Linked DNA regions of Homo sapiens: region 1 is linked to region 2. The links are contacts of gene promoters, found by promoter capture Hi-C in blood cells and fetal thymus (Javierre and others, 2016). All regions are on one chromosome and are shown on one strand. Each heading gives the region's core, a stretch centred on a gene start or on the middle of the fragment in contact. The rest is flanking DNA. Distances are from core to core; before and after follow the strand shown.

Region 1 (3,474 bases), core at 975-3,474, 540 kb after region 2:
ATGCAGAGAATGGAGAACTCCTCTGCCCCTATTTGCTGAAACATTCTGCTCTGCTGAGAAGAGGGAATTCTGCTGTAAAGGGCAGAACTTACTCTAGAAAGAGGGGATGGAAGTTGGAGGTAGGGAGGGGCCATACAGGTAGCAGCGCTGGGGCTGGGGAGCAGGGGAGGACCCCAGAACTGGGTTGTCGATGAAGAGCTCAAGGGTTGTCTGCCTGCCTTGTGGCCAGAGGCTGTGAGGGTTTTGGTGATCGTGAGAGGGGCTAAAAGCGTGGAGCTTAATTAGGTTCTGTTTTTCATAACCAGTCTTACTATCAATGGATGGAGAACAAATTTGTCAATATATGGTTTAAAAGCACTTAGAAAAGACAACGGTGGTCCTTCAGAGCCACAGTGGGTTCATCAAAAACAAGACATGCTAAGCTGGATGTGTGTGCCTGAAGTCCCAGCTCCCTGGGGGGCTGAGGCAGGAGGATGCTTTGAGCCCAGGAGTTTGAGTCCAGCCTGGGCAACTTAGCAAGAGCTCGTCTCTTAAAAAAAAAAAGAAAAAAGAAAAAAAAAAAAGGAATGCTAGATGTCTCCTGATAAGGCACTGGCAGAACAGGAGATTGCTCTGGAAAATACCACTTCCTGTCATTCATCAAATGCCTACCATATGTTAGGAATTCCACCAGGCAATTTTATACACTACCCATAATTATTATTTTACAATTGAGCAAAGTGAGGCTCAGAGTAGTGAAGTGACTTGCCCAAGGCCACACAGCTAGTAAGTGATAGAGCTGGGATTTGAACTGTGACTAATTTGGCTTCAAAGCTTAAACCATTGCCAGGATGTTCTACTGACTCACTGGGCATATCTAGAGTTCATTCATTTATCTGTTCATTTTGTGGCTGTTTTTGAGGCACTGTGCCAGATGCTATAGGAAATTATGGAAGGAATGAGATTCTGCCTTTAACTAAAGAAGACAAGATACAAATAAATGTGTATACAAATAAATGTAATACAAGGTAGAGGGGATCAGTGCCAGCAAAGAGGTTTGATACGATGCTGCTGTGGGGGTTCAGGGCAGGGTGAAATTCTGGGAAGGATTTCTGGCTGAATGGGTGTTTGTGGCAGGCCTTGCAAGATTAATATAACTTAAGCCCTGGGGAGAGTAAAGGGAAGATTCTTCCAGATGGAGGCACCACTGAGAGCCAAGGCAGAGAGTCTGGGAAGTGGGCTTGTCTGGAGAACAAGCCTTTTGTTTGTTGAGAGAGCTGTATGGTGAGGTGGTGGGGAGGAGAATAAAAGCCTGCAGAAGGGGTTGGGGACAGACACTTGGGGACCTGGGAGTCGAGGCTGTGATTGACTTCCGACGGCAGGGGAGCTGGCGAGGGCTTGCAGGGCCCTGGCACGATCAGAGAGCACAGAAGAAAGGATCTGGCCATGGTGGGCGGAGGGATTGGGTGGAAGAGCCTGGGGGCAGGGGACAGACCGTAGGGAAGCCTGAGGGAGGTCCTTGGAGTGGCGGGGAATGCCTGCATTACAGCAGAGACAGTGGCTTCTCAAGAACAGGGAGGTACTGGACAACATCTCACCATTGATTCTGAAACGTGGGTGCTGTTTCCTCTGTCTGGAATTTACCCTCTCTCTTTTCCTGCTCATCTTTCTTGGTTTCAAAGAAGCTTGGAAGTTTAAGGTATACTTCCAAAAAGCTTCCCTGACTCCTATGAGGAGGCTTCCTAGGTTGGGTCCCTCCTTCCTACATCCCCCATCCTGTTATTTACCACAGTGTGTCACAATCACTTGTTTAATGTCACATGCCCTAGGAGAGTGCACGTTTCCGACACAGTGCCTGGTACCCAGTAGGTTCTCAGTAGAGAATTATGGACTGCGTGGAATACAGTTCGGTGGGTCGTAATTGGCTGGGTTAACTATGCCTTAGGTACAGAGACAGAAAGAAAGAAAGAGAGAGAGACAGAGAGAGAGAGATGGATCCATCCGAATAGAGGTCTTTAGTGTATTCCACAGGGCTCCACCTGTTCATTGTTATTACTAACATTTGAAGTACACTAGGGATGTCACATTTATCAACTTCCAGAAGCCTAGTAACTATGTTGGAAGAAAAAGGGATCTAGGAAGATCTTGATAGGCTGGAGCTAGGAACTAGGTATTGCAAGATGAAATTAATGAGGACAAAATATTCAGTCCTTCCCAAAGGCCTCAAACCCAGCTGCCCAAGCCCAGGGTGAGGGTAGGATGTAGTTTGGCTGTAGCAGCTGTGAAAAACTTGGCCATTTTCATGAGCAGAAAGCTCAGAGGGATGCAGGTGCTCCCTGGGGAGTTCTGTGTGCCCAGCCTGGGCGCTGCTGTGGAGGAGGGACACACTGAAGTTGGAGCATGTCCAGCTCAGAGCGGTCAGGGTGGAACGCCTCCCGGGAGGTGTCTTCCCATCTCACCATCTCTCCTTCCTCCTGTCTTCTGCTCCGTCCCACCAAACTCTGCCTAGACCTGTCACCCTTGAAGCCAAACCCACTGCCTGCTCTGCCCCTTCCATGGACTCTGTTCTTCCCTTAATACCTCTAGTCACGGAGAGCTCAGGGAGGAAGGCCTGGGGGGCCCTGGGGAGAGGGACTCTGTGTCCTCAGCATACTCCTTGCTGGCCTGGACCCCTCCCCCTGGCGTGGCACAGCCTGGGAACTGACCCCTGAGAACAGCACCTGGTGCCCTTTGCTTCCTGCCATGTTGAGACAACTAGGTGACAGCTAAGCTTTATTGAGAACTTTCTTTTTTTCTTTGTTTGAGACAGAGTCTCGCTCTGTTGCCCAGGCTGGAGTGCAGTGGCACGATCTCAGCTCACTGCAACCTCCGCCTCCCAGGTTCAAGCGATTCTCCTGCCTCAGCCTCCCTAGTAGCTGGGACTATAGGCGCCTGCCACCACGCCTGGCTAATTTTTGTATTTTTAGTAGAGATGGGGTTTTGCCATGTTGGCCAGGCTGGTCTCGAACTCCTGACCTCAAGTGATCTGCCTGCCTCGGCCTCCCAAAGTGCTGGGATTACAGGTGTGAGCCACCGCACCTGGCCAGTTGAGAACTTTCTACATGGCAGGCACTGTTCTAAGTGCTCATTTCTCCTTCCAGCAACCCCACGCAGAAGGTCATCCCTACCTCTATTTCACAAATGAGGGGACTGAGGTACAGAGAGGTTAGGTGACATGGCCTCTGGCTACCTTAGCTCTGTAGAAGGCCAGGGAGAGGCACAGGGCTGGGTGCAGGGCCCACGGCTCCTGCCACAATTCTCCCCCTACTCTTGCTCCTCTCCTCACCACTGTCCCTTCTCTCTCCCTCTCCAGGAAGGAGTGTCTCGTGAGCTCCTCGGGGAATGACAACACGGAGAACGGCTTGCCTGGCTCCAAGGCAGAGGAGAAACCACCTTCAAAAGTGTGAGCCCTGCTTCGGGCTGAGCAGCTGCAGGGAGCCCCCTTTCTGATGATGA
Region 2 (6,190 bases), core at 1,839-4,338:
TTTAATTTTATGTGTCAACATGGCTAGGCAAAGGTATCCAGATAGTTGGTCAAGCATTATTCTAGATGTTTCTGTGAAGATATTTTTTAGATGAAAATAACATTTAAATTTGTAGACTTTGAGTAAAGCAGGTTACCCTCCCTAACTTGGATGGGCCTTATCCAATCAGTTGAAGACTTTAATTTGAAAAAGACTGACCTCCCCAGAAGAAGAAGGAATTCTCTCAGCATGCTGCCTTCAGACTTGAACTGCAGCTTCTTCCCTGTTTCTCCAGCCTGCCAGCCTACCCTAGAGATTTTGGACTTGCCAGCTACCTCTCAAACTCTCTCTCTCTACCCCCATCCCCCATATATGTATTGTTTCTGCCTAATACGGTCCAGGACCAGATGGCTTCATTGGTAAATTCTACCAAACATTTAAAGAATTAACAATCCTTCTCAAACACTTCCACAAATAGAAGAGGGGCATATTTCCTAACTCATGCTATGAGGCTAACATTACCCTGATATTAAAACCAGATAAAGACATCACAAGAGGGCTGGGCATGGTGGCTCACACTTGGGGAGAAACACTTTGGGAGGCCAAGGCGGGAGGATCACTTGAGGCCAGGAGTTCAAGACCAGCCTGGGCGACACAGTCAGATGTAGTCTCTACAAAAAAATTTAAAAATTACCCAGGCGTGGTGGCATGCACCTGTAGTCCTGGCTACTCAGAAGGTTGAGGCCAGATGACCACTTGAGCCCCAGGAAGTCGAGGTTGTGGTGAGCTGTGTTCATGCCACTGTATTCCAGCCTGCTGGGTGATGGAGCAAGACTATGTGTCCAAAAAAAAAAAAAAACAAAACAAAACAAGGAAAGAAAATTACAGTCAAATATGCTCTATACATATTGATGCAAAATTCCTCAAAAAAATACTCGCAAGCCAAAACCAACAGTTTATTAAAAGGATTAGACATCATGACCAAGTGAGATTTATCCAAAGAATGCAAGGGTGGTTGCACAGCATTGTGAATGTAATAAAAGGAAATTGAATTGTACACTTAAAAATTGTTGACCAGGCATGGTGGCTCACACCTGTAATCCCAATACATTGGGAGGATGAGGCAGGAGGATTGCTTGAGCTCAGGAGTTCCACACCAGCCTGGACAACATAGGGAGACCCAATCTCTAAAAAAAAAAAAATTATTTTTAATTTAAAAATTAGTTGGGCGTGGTGGCATGTGCCTGTGGTCCCAGCTGCTCAGGAGGCTGAGGTGGGAGAATCCCTTAAACCTGAGAGATCAAGGCTGCAGTGAGCTGTGATGGAGCCACTGCATGCCAGCCTGGGCAACAGAGCGAGACCCTGTCTCAAAAAACAAAGCAAACAAAAAAAACAATGCCAGCTGCCCACATTACTGGGTGGAGCTATCTGAACCTTTACTAGTTCAGAGTGGTGCCTGATTCATGAGTCATTTCTTTGCTTGAATAAATGGTTAAATTTAATTTGTCTAAGGTTTTTCTTTTTAATAGCAGTAAACACTGCTCAGGTGCCACAACTGACATCCTTAACTGCAAACCTAAGTCCTTCAGGAGAGGTCATGCCTATCATTAAACTCCATGTGCCTTGCCCACCCCCTGTCCCCTGTCCCTTCAGCTCACCTTCCATATGTTGAGGGGATGAGCCTCCTAAAGTAACCGAATCTGCTTTTTTTTTTTTTTTTTTTTTTTTGAGACAGAGACTTACTCTGTCGCCCAGGCTGGAGTGCAGTGGCATGATCTCGGCTCACTACAACCTCTGTCTCCCGAGTTCAAGCGATTCTCCCACCTCAGCCTCCTGAGGAGCTGGGATTACAGGTACCCGCCATCATGCCCAGCTAATTTTTGTATTTTTGTAGAGACGGGGTTTCACCATGTTGGCCAGGCTGGTCTTGAACTCCTGACCTCAGGTGATCCACCCGCCTCGGCCTCCCAAAGTGGTGGGATTACAGGCATGAGCCACTGCACCCAGCCTGAATCTGCTTCTTAAGCTCACAAACTTCTCTGCTGGTTCCACTTTGGGGAATTACAAGGAATTACATTCCTTGGCTTGGCAAAGACCATTTCCAGACTGGTGCCAACATGTTCCTCCAGTCTATCTCAAAACCCTTCCCTGCATGAACACCAAGTTCTCTGCAGCTAGGCTGAGGGGTTTGCTCTTCTCTTCACATGCTCTGCATACATTGTAGTGGTCTCCAGCCCATTTCCCTTGGCAAACTCCTATGCGGTCATCAAGACTCATTAGGACTGGCGCAGTGGCTCACGCCTGTAATCCCAGCACTTTGGGAGGCCAAGGCGAGCAGATCATGAGGTCAAGAGATTGAGACCATCCTGGCCAACACAGTGAAACCCCGTCTCTACTAAAAATACAAAAATTAGCTGGGCGTGGTGGCGGGCACCTGTAGTCCCAGCTATTCAGGATGCTGAGGCAGGAGAATTGCTTGAACCCGGGAGGCGGAGGTGGCAGTGAGCTGAGATCACGCCACTGCACTCCAGCCTAGCGACAGAGTGAGACTCAGTCTCAAAAAAAAAAAAAAAAAGACTCATTACAAATGACACACTATTGTGGGTCTCCCTTAGTCCTCCCCAGACAGAATGGTTCTACTGTCCTGTGCTTCCGCTGTATCTCTTGCAGATAACAGTGAGAGGCCCTGAATTTCACACCACACCAGGGACAGGATCTTGAGCCATTCCATTTGAAATGTTAAGGGAAATGGTAACTCTCTGAGGTTGGTGGTCTTGGGGCCACCCAAGGAACCTGGCATCCAGGTTACAGGTGTGTGGCCTCGACTGTGTCCCTGGCCTTTGGGTGCCCACTCCCCACCCCCACCACCATGCTCTGAGGGAAGGGCCTGAGCCATTGGCACCAGCTGAGACTGTGAAATAGAAGAGGCAAAGTAGAAGCAAGGGAGGTGGCCACTGTGCCCTGAGAGCAGGAGGGGCAAGCGGGCCACACACAGACCAAGCACACGTCCCCTCAGGTGGCCACGCCTCAAAGGCTGGACTTTGGCCGACTTGGACAGGCAGGTGAGCCAGGCTGTGCCCAGCAAGCCGAAGGTGCCTGGGCTTGCTCATTCAGTCACAGTCACAGCCACCATGCCAGGGAGGACCTGGGAGCTGTGCCTGCTACTGCTGCTGGGGCTGGGACTGGGGTCCCAGGAGGCCCTACCCCCACCCTGTGAGAGGTAGGGGTGTGGGGAAGGCAGCAGGGGAGGATGGCAATAAGAGGGAGGCTGGGATGAGATCTCAAGCTCTGGGGTCGGTACTTCAGAGGGAAAGGAAGAGATTATAAAGGAAGGAAAGAGTAGGGAAGAGAAGAAAATGAGAATTCCTATGTAGCAGGCTCTGTGCTGGGCACTGCACCTGCAGTCCGTTTTTTTTGTTGTTGTTGTTAGAGTCTTGCTCGGTCGTCCAGATGGAGTACAGTGGCACCATCTCCACTCACTGCAGCCTAGACCTCCCGGGTTCGAGAGATTCTCGTGCCTCAGCCTCCTGAGTAGCTGGAATCACAGGCATGCACCACCACGCCCAGCCTGTCATTGATTTTTACCAAAATTTTCCACCGTTGGAAGGGACATTAGGCTTGGCGACTGTGCTGGGAATACAAGCGTGAGCCACCGCCCCCTGTCGGGACCTGCAGTCCTGATACCAGACGCAGCTGCCAGAGCCTGGCCTGAGGTCCAAGAGCCTGCTGGCCAGAGCCCGCCCTCCCTTCCTCTCCTCCTCCAAGCTGCCCCTTGAACTGTGCAGGCCTCTTCTCAGGATTGTTCTAGCAAACTTTCTGCTCCAGCTTCCTAGTCTGGGTGTGAGAGGCAGCCTAAGGGCCTGAAGACAGCACTTGGGCTTGAGCCCTGACCCTCATATTCTCTCTGTGACCCAGGGCAGGTCAAGGCTCTTTCCTGAGCCTGAGTTTCCATCACCAGGGACAGAGATGAGTGACCCTGTCCTGTCTCCTGGACTCAGGCGATGTCCACCCTTCGTTCCACATGGATTTATGGAGCTGTGGCCACATCAGCCACTTTACCAGCTCCTGCAAGAACAATAATAATAGAAGAAAAACAGCTGGGCACGGTGGCTCATGCCTGTAATCCCAGCACTTTGGGAGGCCAAGGTGGGAGCTATCATCTGAGGTCAGGAGTTCGAGACCAGCCTGGCCAACATGGTGAAACCCCATCTCTATGAAAAATACAAAATTAGCCGGGCATGGTGGCGCACGCCTGTAATCCCAGCTACTCGGGAGGCTGAGGCAGGAGAGTCGCTTGAACTTGGGATGTGGAGGTTGCAGTGAGCCAAGATCATGCCATTGCACTCCAGTCGGGGCAACAAGAGCAAAACTCTATCTCAAATAATAATAATAATAATAATAGAAGCAAAACAGTAACAGAAGCACAGTTTGAAGTAGAGAGAAGTTAGGGCCCGCTGGTGTGGGTGAGCAGAGGGTGTGTTAGAGAGGATGGGGAGGGACGGTGTCTCTGAGGAGGTGATGTGTAAGCAGAATTGTGGCAGGAACCATTGCTGAGCTGATCTGGGAGAGGACAGTCCAGGCATGGAAAGGGCCATGCAGAGGCCCTGACGCACTGTTCAGGGATTGGGACGAAGGCCTGTGTGATTGGGGCAGAGTGGGAACAGGTCCGGGGAGAGCGGGGCTCCAGGCAACAAGGTTTGGGCTTGGGTTCCAGTGGTTAGACTAGAGACAGAGACAAGGGGTTCAATAGAGGGTGTGTGTTACAGGGAGAGTTGACAGTGCTTGCCCATGACAATTGTGGAATATAAAGGGGAAAAGTGTACCTGGGATAATTAATAGGTTTTGTCCTGAGCAATTGTAATGAGGACTTCAGAGAGGCTGGGTGGTCCAGTGCTTTGTCAAGCATTAGGCTGTTTGCCAAATGTAGGGGAAGATGACTTTACTGGTGTTCCCTAAGACCAACCTCAGGCCAGTGATTCACTAACACTTCCAAATGGTTATACCATGATTATGGTTTCATTTTTTTTCTTTTTTTGAGACAGAGTCTCGCTCTGTCGCCAGGTTGGAGTGCAGTGGTGCAATCTCGGCTCGCTGCAACCTCCACCTTCTGGGTTCAAGCGATTCTCCTGCCTCAGCCTCCCCAGTAGCTGGGACTACAGGCACCTGCCACCACGCCCAGCTAATTTTTGTATTTTTAGTAGAGACAGAGGTGTTGCCATGTTGGCAAGAATGGTCTCAATCTCTTGTCCTTGTGATCCGCCTGCCTCAGCCTCCCAAAGTGCTGGGATTACAGGCATGAACCACCGTGCCCAGCCTTGATTATGGTTTCTTACAGTGAAAAGATACATGTTAAAGCCATCAAAGGTGAAATATTCTAGGGCCAAGTCCAGGAGAAAATAATCTCAATCTTCCAGTTTTTCCTCTCCCAGTGGATTTATATGGACAGGACTTGATTTTTCCAGCAATAACATGTGACAGCACGCATGAAGTATTGCCAATCACAAAAGCTCACCTGAGTCTTGGTGTCCAGTGTTTTTATTGGAGGTCAGTGATGAAAGCGTGGACTACCTGTGTGGCTGACCTCAGTTACTCACTCTCCAGAGTTCAAACTGATACTGGGCGGCCAAAGGCCCCTGCCACAAATCACATTATTAGCATCAAATATCTGGCATGGCCCAAGGCCCCAGAAAAACAAAGACTTATCAGGCAGCATATTTTGGTAATTTAAATCTCATCTCTCAGGGCTGGTCACAGGCCAGAATTTTCTCTGAAATGTGCAGGGTTTGAACACAGCAGACCTGCTGAGTCAATCCTTTCATGTATAAGCCACTTCTTGTATAATGAGGAATTAGTTTCATTTTTGTCTTGGGTTCCTCCAAAGTAACCTCTAAGCTCCTTGGAATCTCCCAAGTGATAGGAATGTCTGTTATTAATAGTGGTCCCTGATTAGTGTTTTTTTGTTGTTGTTTTTTTCTTTCTTTTTTTTTTTGAGACAGCAATCTAGCTCTGTTGCCCAGGCTGGCAGTGCAGTGGTGAGCATTTTGGCTCAATGCAACCTCTGCCCCCAGGGTTCAAGTGATTCTCCTGCCTCAGCCTCCCAAGTAGCTGGGACTATAGGCACGCACCACCACGCCTGGCTAATTTTTGTATTTTTAGTAGAGACGGGGTTTCACCATGTTGGCCAGCTGGTCTTAAACTCCTGACCTCAAGC

The links. Contacts are between HindIII fragments. The CHiCAGO score rates a contact against its expected background, and 5 or more counts as called.
Region 1: a fragment that was not itself captured here is called in contact with the fragment with the promoter of TREH in region 2 in 2 of 17 cell types (non-activated CD4 T cells and naive CD4 T cells); the score reaches 5.3 in non-activated CD4 T cells.

The regions. Positions count from the first base shown.
Region 1 is chr11:118,136,978-118,140,451 of GRCh38, reverse strand. It overlaps SCN4B (sodium voltage-gated channel beta subunit 4), which reads left to right. Exons shown (of 5, transcript NM_174934.4): 5 at 3,332-3,474. The coding sequence ends at 3,425. Among named protein-coding and RNA genes, the nearest start is that of SCN4B, 14 kb to the left of the region's middle. The HindIII fragment of the contact is 1,055 bases long and covers 1,697-2,751 here.
Region 2 is chr11:118,676,548-118,682,737 of GRCh38, reverse strand. TREH (trehalase) reads left to right here and starts at 3,088. Exons shown (of 15, transcript NM_007180.3): 1 at 3,088-3,199. The coding sequence starts at 3,111. RefSeq lists enhancers at 2,537-3,196, 3,197-3,858. The HindIII fragment of the contact is 8,736 bases long and covers 1-6,190 here.